Linked DNA regions of Homo sapiens: region 1 is linked to region 2. Evidence: promoter capture Hi-C in human tissues and cell types (Jung and others, 2019). All regions are on one chromosome and are shown on one strand. The core of a region is centred on a gene start or on the middle of the fragment in contact, and the rest is flanking DNA. Distances in the headings are between cores, read along the strand shown. Region 1 overlaps PKP4 (plakophilin 4). Region 2 holds the start of GALNT5 (polypeptide N-acetylgalactosaminyltransferase 5).

Region 1 (4,515 bases), core at 718-3,217, 1.4 Mb before region 2:
CCAAAAAAAAATGTTTACAGTTATTCTTGATCAGAAAAAAGGAAAGGTTCTATTTTTGCTAAGTATGTGGTGTTCAAGGGACCCACCAAAAGGCAGCTTTATCACCCTGCATTGTGTGTTATATTATCCTCTAATCCTGCACTTCACCATGTAACACAAAGAGTTGCAACCTTCGGTATGGATTTAACTCACCATTTTGACTGGTTTTTCTTCCTCACTTTCTATTCCAAAACTAAGGTTATATAAAGCCAAAACAACCAGCTCTAGTCAATAAATAATGGATGAAAAAGATTTAATTAAACTTAAAAGCCTTAGATATGAAATGATTAATTTGGCTTTTTTGCTCAAAGTAAAAAGCACCTCTCTTAAGACCGGCTAATAACACCTGTGTGTGCTCGACCTCACTAAAACAATGTTCTCTCCACTTTGTCTAGGGCTTCATTTAATGGGTCAGGAAGAATCTTGCTAGGGCAGTAAGTAATGAATAGAGAATACACCAACTCCCAGATGTAGTAAGACTGATGAGAAAATGAAGAGCTGTAGGATTAGCCTTCTCCATCAACATGATAACCTCTAACTCCAACATCCTAATGCAAAATTTGCTTCAAAAATATTTATCACCATACTCCATTATCTCCTGGTTCTCAAAGGGAAAGTTAAAAATAAACTAGAATTTGGTTGAGGAAGCTTGAGGTTTTATTTAATTTAAAGCAATTAGCTATTTGTTGTGAGGACTAAGAATATAAACATACAAACTAATTTAGAAAATATTAGGGAGTCTCATGCATATTATTGTAGAAAACGCTGCTTATTCCCTGTCACAGGAACAAGTACATATAATTATGAGTAACCAATAATCACAATGAAATACTGCCATGAGAAATGAAAGTTCATTTTCCTCACAAAGAATGAATAAAGTAATTAAAATACCATTTCACATAAATCCTATGCTGCACAATTTTGAAAGAGCTCACATTTAAAACTAACTTTATAGCTATTCTAATGGCGAACTGATAATTTTATAGTCAAATTAGAAGCTGATTTTACTGATTAATTAAAATAATAGCAACTATTTGAAAAATGTACTTCTTAAAGGATATTAAAAAAAACAAAACATTTGGAAAATGCGATTTCTCTGGTGGCAGATATGCATGGCAGCCTATACAACTGTTTTTCTTTTTGATATGAAAGACAATCTTAAACCACTCATTTTTAGACAGCATTCAATTTATGCCATGTTTCCTAATTATATTAAAAAGAGCCCAAGTGTTTGTAGACATTGCCAAAAGCAAAAAAGCAACAGCCATAAAGGTGCCAGTGTGCTTCAAACATCATCACTGGACAGGCCCCTGCATTTTCCTTCTTGAGTGAACCTCGCTCTGAGTGCTCTGGTTTTAGTCGTGCTCTTTCACAAGACGTTCATGATGGAGGCAGGTAAAACTACCCAGGCTCAGGGTGTGAGGAACCATCAAGGAGATAATGGATGCTAAGGTCTTGTGCACACTCAACCCCCACTCCATTCCCAGTACAAAGCAAGTGTCATGACCAGTGGCTAACAGGACTGTGCATTCCCGTTGAAGCTCTGGGGAACACTGCTCCTTATGTAATCCTCCCCACCTCCTGCCCCAGCTCCTGGCTATTCTGCATCTATGGGCTCACTGGAACCACCCTGCAAACATTCTTGAAAAATGGGGGTAGAAATATTAGATTAATAGCACAAACATAATAATATCAGGGCTGCAGATTGTATCACGGCCCTTGCCTGCTTCTCCTAGCACATGCCTCCATTATCATTCCCTATACAGTCTCTGGCTGAAACACTCAGGATCTAGCAAACACACATCTTCATTTCTTTCTCTATGCAGCTGCCCTTGAAGTTCTCCCCTTAGCCCAATGGGTTTTTATAAACTTCTGCGGCTTTTTCTTGGGACGAGAGTAATGCCAAGATGCTATGGCACCTACATCCTGCTACAATATGGCCTCCCGCCAGCCTTAAAGTTACACACCTCATACCTTTGACATTTACGTTACCTCTACCCAAATGCAGTATAGACCTGTGCTGCCCCATACGGTGGCCATCAGCCACATGTGGCTACTTGAAATATGGCTAGTCCAAACTGAGATGCACTGTTGAGTAAAAAACAGATTATGAAGACTTGGTACGAAGAAGTGAACACAAAATATTAATAATTTTTATATTTCTTAGAAGTTGAAATACTTTGAAACTATTAGGCCAAATAAAATACATTACTAAAATAGATTTCCCATGGCTGCTAGAAAATGTAGAAAATATGCAGCTCATATTATTCTCCTATTGAACAGCGCTGGCAGAGATGCTTGCTTGCTTCATGCCAGACTCCGAGGGAGACACACAGGGGAGCCATCTGTTCTCAGGGGGGCCTTACCACAAACAGTTACACCACCAGGCAGTTGTGACAAAGGGCAGGAAGAGCAACAGGTATGGCTTGAATATCCTGTGTGCCAGGAGCTCAACACACATCATCACAAAAACACCAAGCAGCAGGTAATGTGTCATTGCCGGGGACACTGGGGTTTGACAGTGGTGATGTGTCTGGAGCCACAGAGCTGGAAGGAAACAAGTCAACCTGGCTCCAAAGCTCACACTCACTCGAGACCATGCCGCTTCTCCTTGGATGTTTTTCAAAGTGTGTGAACTTGTGTTTGACAGGAGGATGGGAGACCACATTTGAGTTGCAGTGTCAAGGACAGAGGCCAGAAAGAAGCAGGTTTGGGGTGCAGAGCTCTTCAGGCCAACTATATATAGCCTGGGAAAGAAGCAGAAGAGGTGACGGCACATGCTGGAGCTGGCTGGCAGGAGGTCACAGAAGCTACTGATTTGGACAGGCAGGTGGGAAAACCTGAACTGCAGGCACAGGTGTTATCCCAGGGAGGGGGTGAGGCCAATGGGCTAGGAGGGGCAGAGCCTATTTCACAGGACAGGATGGAGGAGGGAGGAGGCCAAAAGGGAAGGGAAGTGCCTGTAGTGAGAATTTGGAGCCAGATGCAAACTGAGGGTGGTGTCACAGGTAAGCCAGGAGTTTGAATACGTGTGAAAATATGGCACTGTTAACAGAAATGAGGAAGTCAAGGGGGTGGTGGGGAGAATCAGTGCCATAAAACTGTCTGCTGGGCTAATCAATTGCCCAAGCTTTCTAACAGGGCTGAAGGCTGTCAACAAATTACGAAATCTAAGTGAAACTGAAATAGTGGGAAAACAATTACGAGACAGGGATAAAACTACTATCCTCAGTTATAGAAAAATACCTTTCTCTGGATAAATGCTGAGGAAAACAAGTTGTGGTGGTATATAGCCATTCCCAGAGTTTCTAAGATGCCACTATCTGAGCAGAGTTCCTGAAACCTGTGCAGTGACCCCTCCATGCAGTGAGGCTCCTGGTCTATAGGTGTGGCTTGAGGCTTTCTCCTTCCTGCCCCAAAGCATGAGAGGCCAGTTGCTGCACTCCCTGCTGCCTGGCACAGAGCACTGCAGGTGGTGGACAGGCCTGCCTTGCTCACCCCTGTGTTCTCTGGGATTTCCTGCACAGCAGATGCATAATCCTCATGGGGCACGGGGGAGCTCACTCAGGTCCAGCTGTGCTCGGAACACCACCATCTCAGCTTTCAGCGCAGTGGGAAGTGGGTGCTCAGGTGGTCTGAGGGCAAGATGCTTCCTAGGAGGGAGCTGTGTGGAAGTAAGGAACTGGGCTGGTCACAGAGGCTGCACACAGGGGCCCCAGCCTGCATATTCCAGTTGAAGGTGACCATTCCTGCTGCTGAAATTTGTCCCCAGTTGGGACAAGATAGATCTTTAGTGCCTTTAGAGAATATAAGGGTTAGCCCGAGTCTCTGCGATTTTGCAGGCATAAAGGTGGATCACAGCACCTTTGAAAAGATCTACCAACTTTTAGAGATCCATTTACAGAATCATATTTGCATTTTAATGTATTCTTCTTTATTCTAGGTAATTTTACCACTTCTTGGATATGTTTTGAGGATTAATGACATAATGTAGTTATACAGTTCTATGTTCCCTGGAAAGGCATTTCTACAGAAAATAAATAAGCTTACAATTCAGAAATGCTGACTGAGAATTGCCCATATGGGACACACAGAGTGGCTCCTTCTGTTGAAGCAGAGCTAATAAAAGGGAACAGGTCACATGAAAGGAAATTAGAGAATCCTTCTGGGGCAGAAACGGCAGTGGGGGCAGCGGCCCTGGCCACCCTTGTTCTGCAGGTTATTTCAGTGTGACACAGAATTAGGTCATTTATACTGTCACAGTTACACTATCATAGAGATTTGCCCAAGAAACTGTCACTGAAGTCATATACTCCACAGCTGACCTACATGTTCCAGGAACACACTTGCTCATCTGTAACTGCACTAGATCTTCAACCCAGTTGTCTGGTGCTGGCAGAAGCTTAGAGACAAAGGTGCCTCCAGCTGCAAGCTATAGAGCATCATACTCAGAAACTGCAAAGCATTTGCAGGACC
Region 2 (4,828 bases), core at 20-2,519:
AGGTGTCTCATTAATAGATTGCTTCCTTAAGCGATTTGAATTGACAGTGAACTTAGGAAAAGGAAGACTCGTATTGGCTTTGTGTTTATTTGCATTGACTTCTTTGCTCTGAGTCTTAGTTTTGTTTAAGGCCATGGCTTCCCCAGACTTCGGCACTGCTGTGCTGGCAGGGTGTGCCCTCTCGTTTGCTACTGCCTGTGATCGCTGCTTTGGTCTATCAGTACTAAGACTGATGGTCACATTCAAGTCCCTTTCAGCTGCTAGTTTTGATGTGTCACTGCTGGGACTATGACTCTTCCGGGGCTCCTGTTTTAAACTGACACGTCCCATGTGTACTGATATTTTGACTACCTGAGTTCCTTTTGCTGCTATGAATGAGGTCTTTGGAGCCCCCTGAGCTGTCGTTTGCTTTGGTGTCCCCTGGTGAGAGGAGGCTTCAGGTTTGGTGCCTCTCCCGTCTGTCTTCTGCTTGTTAGGAGTCACAGGGAGGGTCTGCAGATGTGCAGGATGCCACAACGGCACAACCTTGCCCCTTCCCAGGGCATTCTGCATTTTTCTTTCCCTCTGGGTTTGGTCCAAGTCCACCTCAACCTTGAGCACACTCTCCTCAGTTTTTCTAACATTCTCTTTGCCCCATGCCCCTTTCCCATGTCCCCTTAGGGGAGGTTTCATCTCTTTTATGCTGCTGTAAAAAATTTTTCCTTGGTCTGGCTGAACTCTGAATCCTATCCGCTCCCTCCTCACAATGTCTTCCTTGATGACCCGAGTGTTGATCTCACTGAATGAGAGGCGGAGAGCTGCCATGTCAAAGAGGAGCCAGATGACAGAAGCTACAAAGATAAATGCCAAGACTCGCCCACTTCCTCGGAAAAACTTTCGGATCCTGTTCATGGTACAAAGCTTTCCCTAGCAGCCTGCCCTCCCTTAGCCTGCTTACCTTGAGTGGAGAGGAAGCTGAAGTAGCAGCAGCAGCAGCAGCAGCAGCAGAGTTGCCAGAAAGTGACCCCCTCCCCTGAACACAGCAGGAAGCAGCAGTCCAAGGGGAAAGCTCAGTTCCTACCGCTTGTCAGTCTCTGCCTGCGTGGCATTTCATAGCAGAGCATCTGTGCCTGCTTGGCTGGCCCTGGCTAAGTTCTGATAAACACTGGCCTTAGGTCACTCCAGGAGCAGTTGATTCCAGCCACCGAACAGTTCAACATATCACTTGTCTTGTCTCCGGGAGCCCATGTCCACCTTCCTACAAGCCCAAGAAAAGGTGGGGGCCAGATTGAGACTGCCGTTTCTCTCCTCCCCGTTCTCCGTCTGCACGCTGTAACTCAACACCACTTCTCATAAGGAAAACATTTCATGCCATTACCCAGAAAACTTCATTCAGCTCTCACCTTCTGTGTTATGTGAGAGCATGTGTGTTTAAACGGCAATTAAAGAGGAAAAAAAGCTATCTAACTTGGAGGGCATGTGTTCCTGGTTTGTGACCCCACCTACCCTACTCCTGCTCATTAACCCTGTTGTAGCCAGGTGCCAATGCTCTGCCTGAGGAATTTATCACTGAAGTTAACATTTCAGCTTTAAGACATAACAGCTTAAAGAAGGGGCCTGGTATATCCTCACTTCCAGAGATGTATATGTTTAATTATTTAGATCATTCATTCAAGGGGTTTCAATGTATTTCTTTGTAAGCCAACTATTTTTTTTTCACTAATCCATCTGTTTTTATTATTACATTTGATTACAAATAAACTTAATTTGTCATACTGCTATAAAAGTTTCTAAACACTTTGTTATGGTCTGAATGTTTATGTCCACCCAAAATTCATATGTTGAAACCTAATCATAAATGTGATAGTATTAGGAGGTAGGGCTTTTGAAGGTGATTTCATTATAAGGATAGAGCCCTCATGAATGGGATCAGCACCCTTAAAAAAGAGGCCCTATTGCCTTGCCATTCCACAAAGTGAAGACATAATGAGAAGGTGCCATCTATGAACCAGGAAATGGGCCTTCACCAGTCAACGAATCTGCTGGTGCCTTGATTTCTGACTTCTCAGTCTCTAGAACTGTGAGAAATAAGTTTCTGTTGTTTATGAGTCACTTAGTCTATGTTATTCTTCTATAGTAGCCTGAACAGATTAAGATACACTTACTCTCAGTTTCAGTACTTATCTCGTCTTAAACCAGCAAGCAACAGTTTCAGGACCACACCAGGACTTGGACCAGATTTTGAGTGATGCTGGTTGACTGGTAGGGTAGCAGTTCCGCCACAGGCTTTTCATTAGAACCACTTGAAACAAGATCCCCAAAACTCTGGTCAATTGATGAGAGAGGAGGTGGAGATGACATTTGGGCTGATATTGTATTAAATATATATATATATATATATATATATATATATATATATATATATTTTTTTTTTTTTTTTTTTTTTTACAAAGCTTCCCAGGTCTTTCAAATGTGCAGCTAAAGTTGAGAAACACTGGTCTAGAAAAAAAGTCTCAATTTTTTGTTTGTTTGTTTTTGGTTTTTGAACATTGCCTATGAGACATTTAATTTTAGGTGTCTACTTGACTGGGCTAAGGAACACCCAGAGAACCAGTAAAGCATTATTTTTAGGTATATCTGTGAGGGTGTTTCCAGAAGAGATTGGCATTTGACTCAGTGCACTGAGTGGGGAGGAGATGCCCTCACCCAATGTGGGCAGGCACCACTAATTGGTTGAGGGCCCAGATAGAAAAAAAGGCAGAGGAAAGGTGGATTCTGTCTCTGTTAGTGAGCTGGGACATCTTTCTTCTTCTGCCTTTGGACTAGAACTTTAGATTCTCTGGCTTTGGCCTCTGGGGCTTGTACCAGTCTGCCCCCACAACCTCCACATCCCTCACTAGGTTCTCAGGCTTTTGACCTCAGACTGAGAGTGATGTTATTGGCTTCCCTGGTTCTCAGGCCTTTGGACTCAGAATGTGCCATGTTACTGGCTTTCCTGGTTCTCCAGCTTGCAGGTGGCCTGGACTGAGGTTTCTCAGTCTCCATAACCACATGAGCCAATTCCTGTAATAAACTGCAACTCACTTATCTACCTCTATGAATCCTATTGGTTCTGTTTCTCTGAAAAATCCTGGCCAATACAGTCTACAACTTGTGTGACATTCCTTCCCTGTCTAAAGTACAGTCTAATAAAATCTATGCATTCCCATAACAACTAAATCAGAATACACATTTTGACATTGCCAGTTGTAAAGATTGTCCATAGAGTTTGAGAAGCACTTCTCGGGACCACTGTCCTTCTCTCTGAGGAACTCTGAGTGATTTGTGGACAACACTGCTGTTCATTACTCTAGTGTGGGGAGGGTCTAGCTTCCATGCTTTGAGGTAAACTTATGTTCCCAATGACTTGGGAGGGGAAGGAGAGATTCCAAATTCATATATATATCTCAAGCACTTTGCTAAGTTCTTTCCATTGACTATCTCACTCAATCCTCACAAGAATCTAATGTGAAGGAGTAAATTACAATATGTATTTTGTAGTCAGCAAATGAAACCTTAGAGAGGTAAAGCAACTTCTGGTAGAGATTGGAGGGGTTGGGTCTTGAATACACGACTGTAGTCCGTGTGCTTCAATATCACACAATACTGCTCTCTAGCTGTATGATCTTGCAGGCTAGTTAATTTTATGTGGTTACTGAGCAATAAAAAAAAATTCTGCTTTGCAGATTAATGTGAGAATATTTAAAAATGGTTAAAGTTATTGTTATATTGAAGGTACTCTTTAAATGTTAGCCATTCATATTGTTGCTAATACTTTGCTGTAATAGGAGTGTCGGATGCATGTGGGAGGCAATGTACCAGCTCTTCCCAAAAAAACAAGTAGAAAACTAGTGACTAACATGATTCTGGCAATGGGGAAGAAACAAATCTGAGTATTTTATTTTATTCTTGCCATTCTTATTTCCTCTAATTATAGATTTAACAAGACCATTGTTCACTGAGAACTCCCTACATGCCCAAAACATGAAGTAGGTGACATTGTCTCTGCCCCTAACAACCTTAAAACTCCCCTCAGTAGAACGCCACCAGTATAATAATAATAATAATAAAAAAAGAACGCCACCAGCAAAAAACATAGCACACATCTTTAGCATCCACATTCGAAAATAAAGTGAGAATTTTTTTTAGCATCATGGATAAATGGTTTGCATTACAATATTGTTTTAAACATGAAAATAGAATACTTTAAAATTATTTTACTCTGCATGATTCAATCTTGTCCAGCCACCATCCCACCCCAAATGGCAGTTGGAATTACTCAAATGTCTTTTAGGAAAGTCAACACTTGTTATATTCTATGCTTGGCAGTTTAAAACACTGCTTGAAATATATTCTTGTTTCCATATAAATTTTATCAAAGAGTACTGATTTCTTTTTATCCCTCTCTGGTTTGTCCTTGCGAATCAAAACACAAATTACTTGCAACAGGAGAGCAACATGTTAAGAAAATTAAAAGGGAATCTTGGCTTATCTATCATGGGTAAAGCAACACATTAACTCTGGCTTAGTCTTCGGTCTATTTGACATACAATTCAGAATGAAATGTGAAGAGTGGGTAGGAGAGTAAGGAAACATTGATTAAATATCCTAGAAATGGAGGAGTAGATTTGTTGTCAGACCTGGTCTAAAGTACTGACTTGGCCACTAATAGCCATATGACTATGGATGTGTCACACATGGAAAAGCTTGTGTAAGGTTCTCTTCCCAGCCTCTTCTTGGTCTTTTCCCTTGTGAGTTTATGATAATCTGTGATGATGGTAGAAGTTGGTTATAAGCCATACCACTAATT

What was found. Contacts are between HindIII fragments. The study calls those that stand out against the background at their distance.
Region 1: a contact is called between a fragment that was not itself captured here and the fragment with the promoter of GALNT5 in region 2, in 1 of the 25 tissues and cell types used here (IMR-90 fibroblasts).

The regions. Positions count from the first base shown.
Region 1 is chr2:158,649,841-158,654,355 of GRCh38, reverse strand. The region is part of intron 11 of PKP4 (plakophilin 4); the gene reads right to left. Among named protein-coding and RNA genes, the nearest start is that of PKP4-AS1, 83 kb to the left of the region's middle. The HindIII fragment of the contact is 5,340 bases long and covers 1-4,515 here.
Region 2 is chr2:157,254,146-157,258,973 of GRCh38, reverse strand. GALNT5 (polypeptide N-acetylgalactosaminyltransferase 5) reads right to left here and starts at 1,269. Exons shown (of 10, transcript NM_014568.3): 1 at 1-1,269. The coding sequence starts at 891. The HindIII fragment of the contact is 4,009 bases long and covers 1-3,578 here.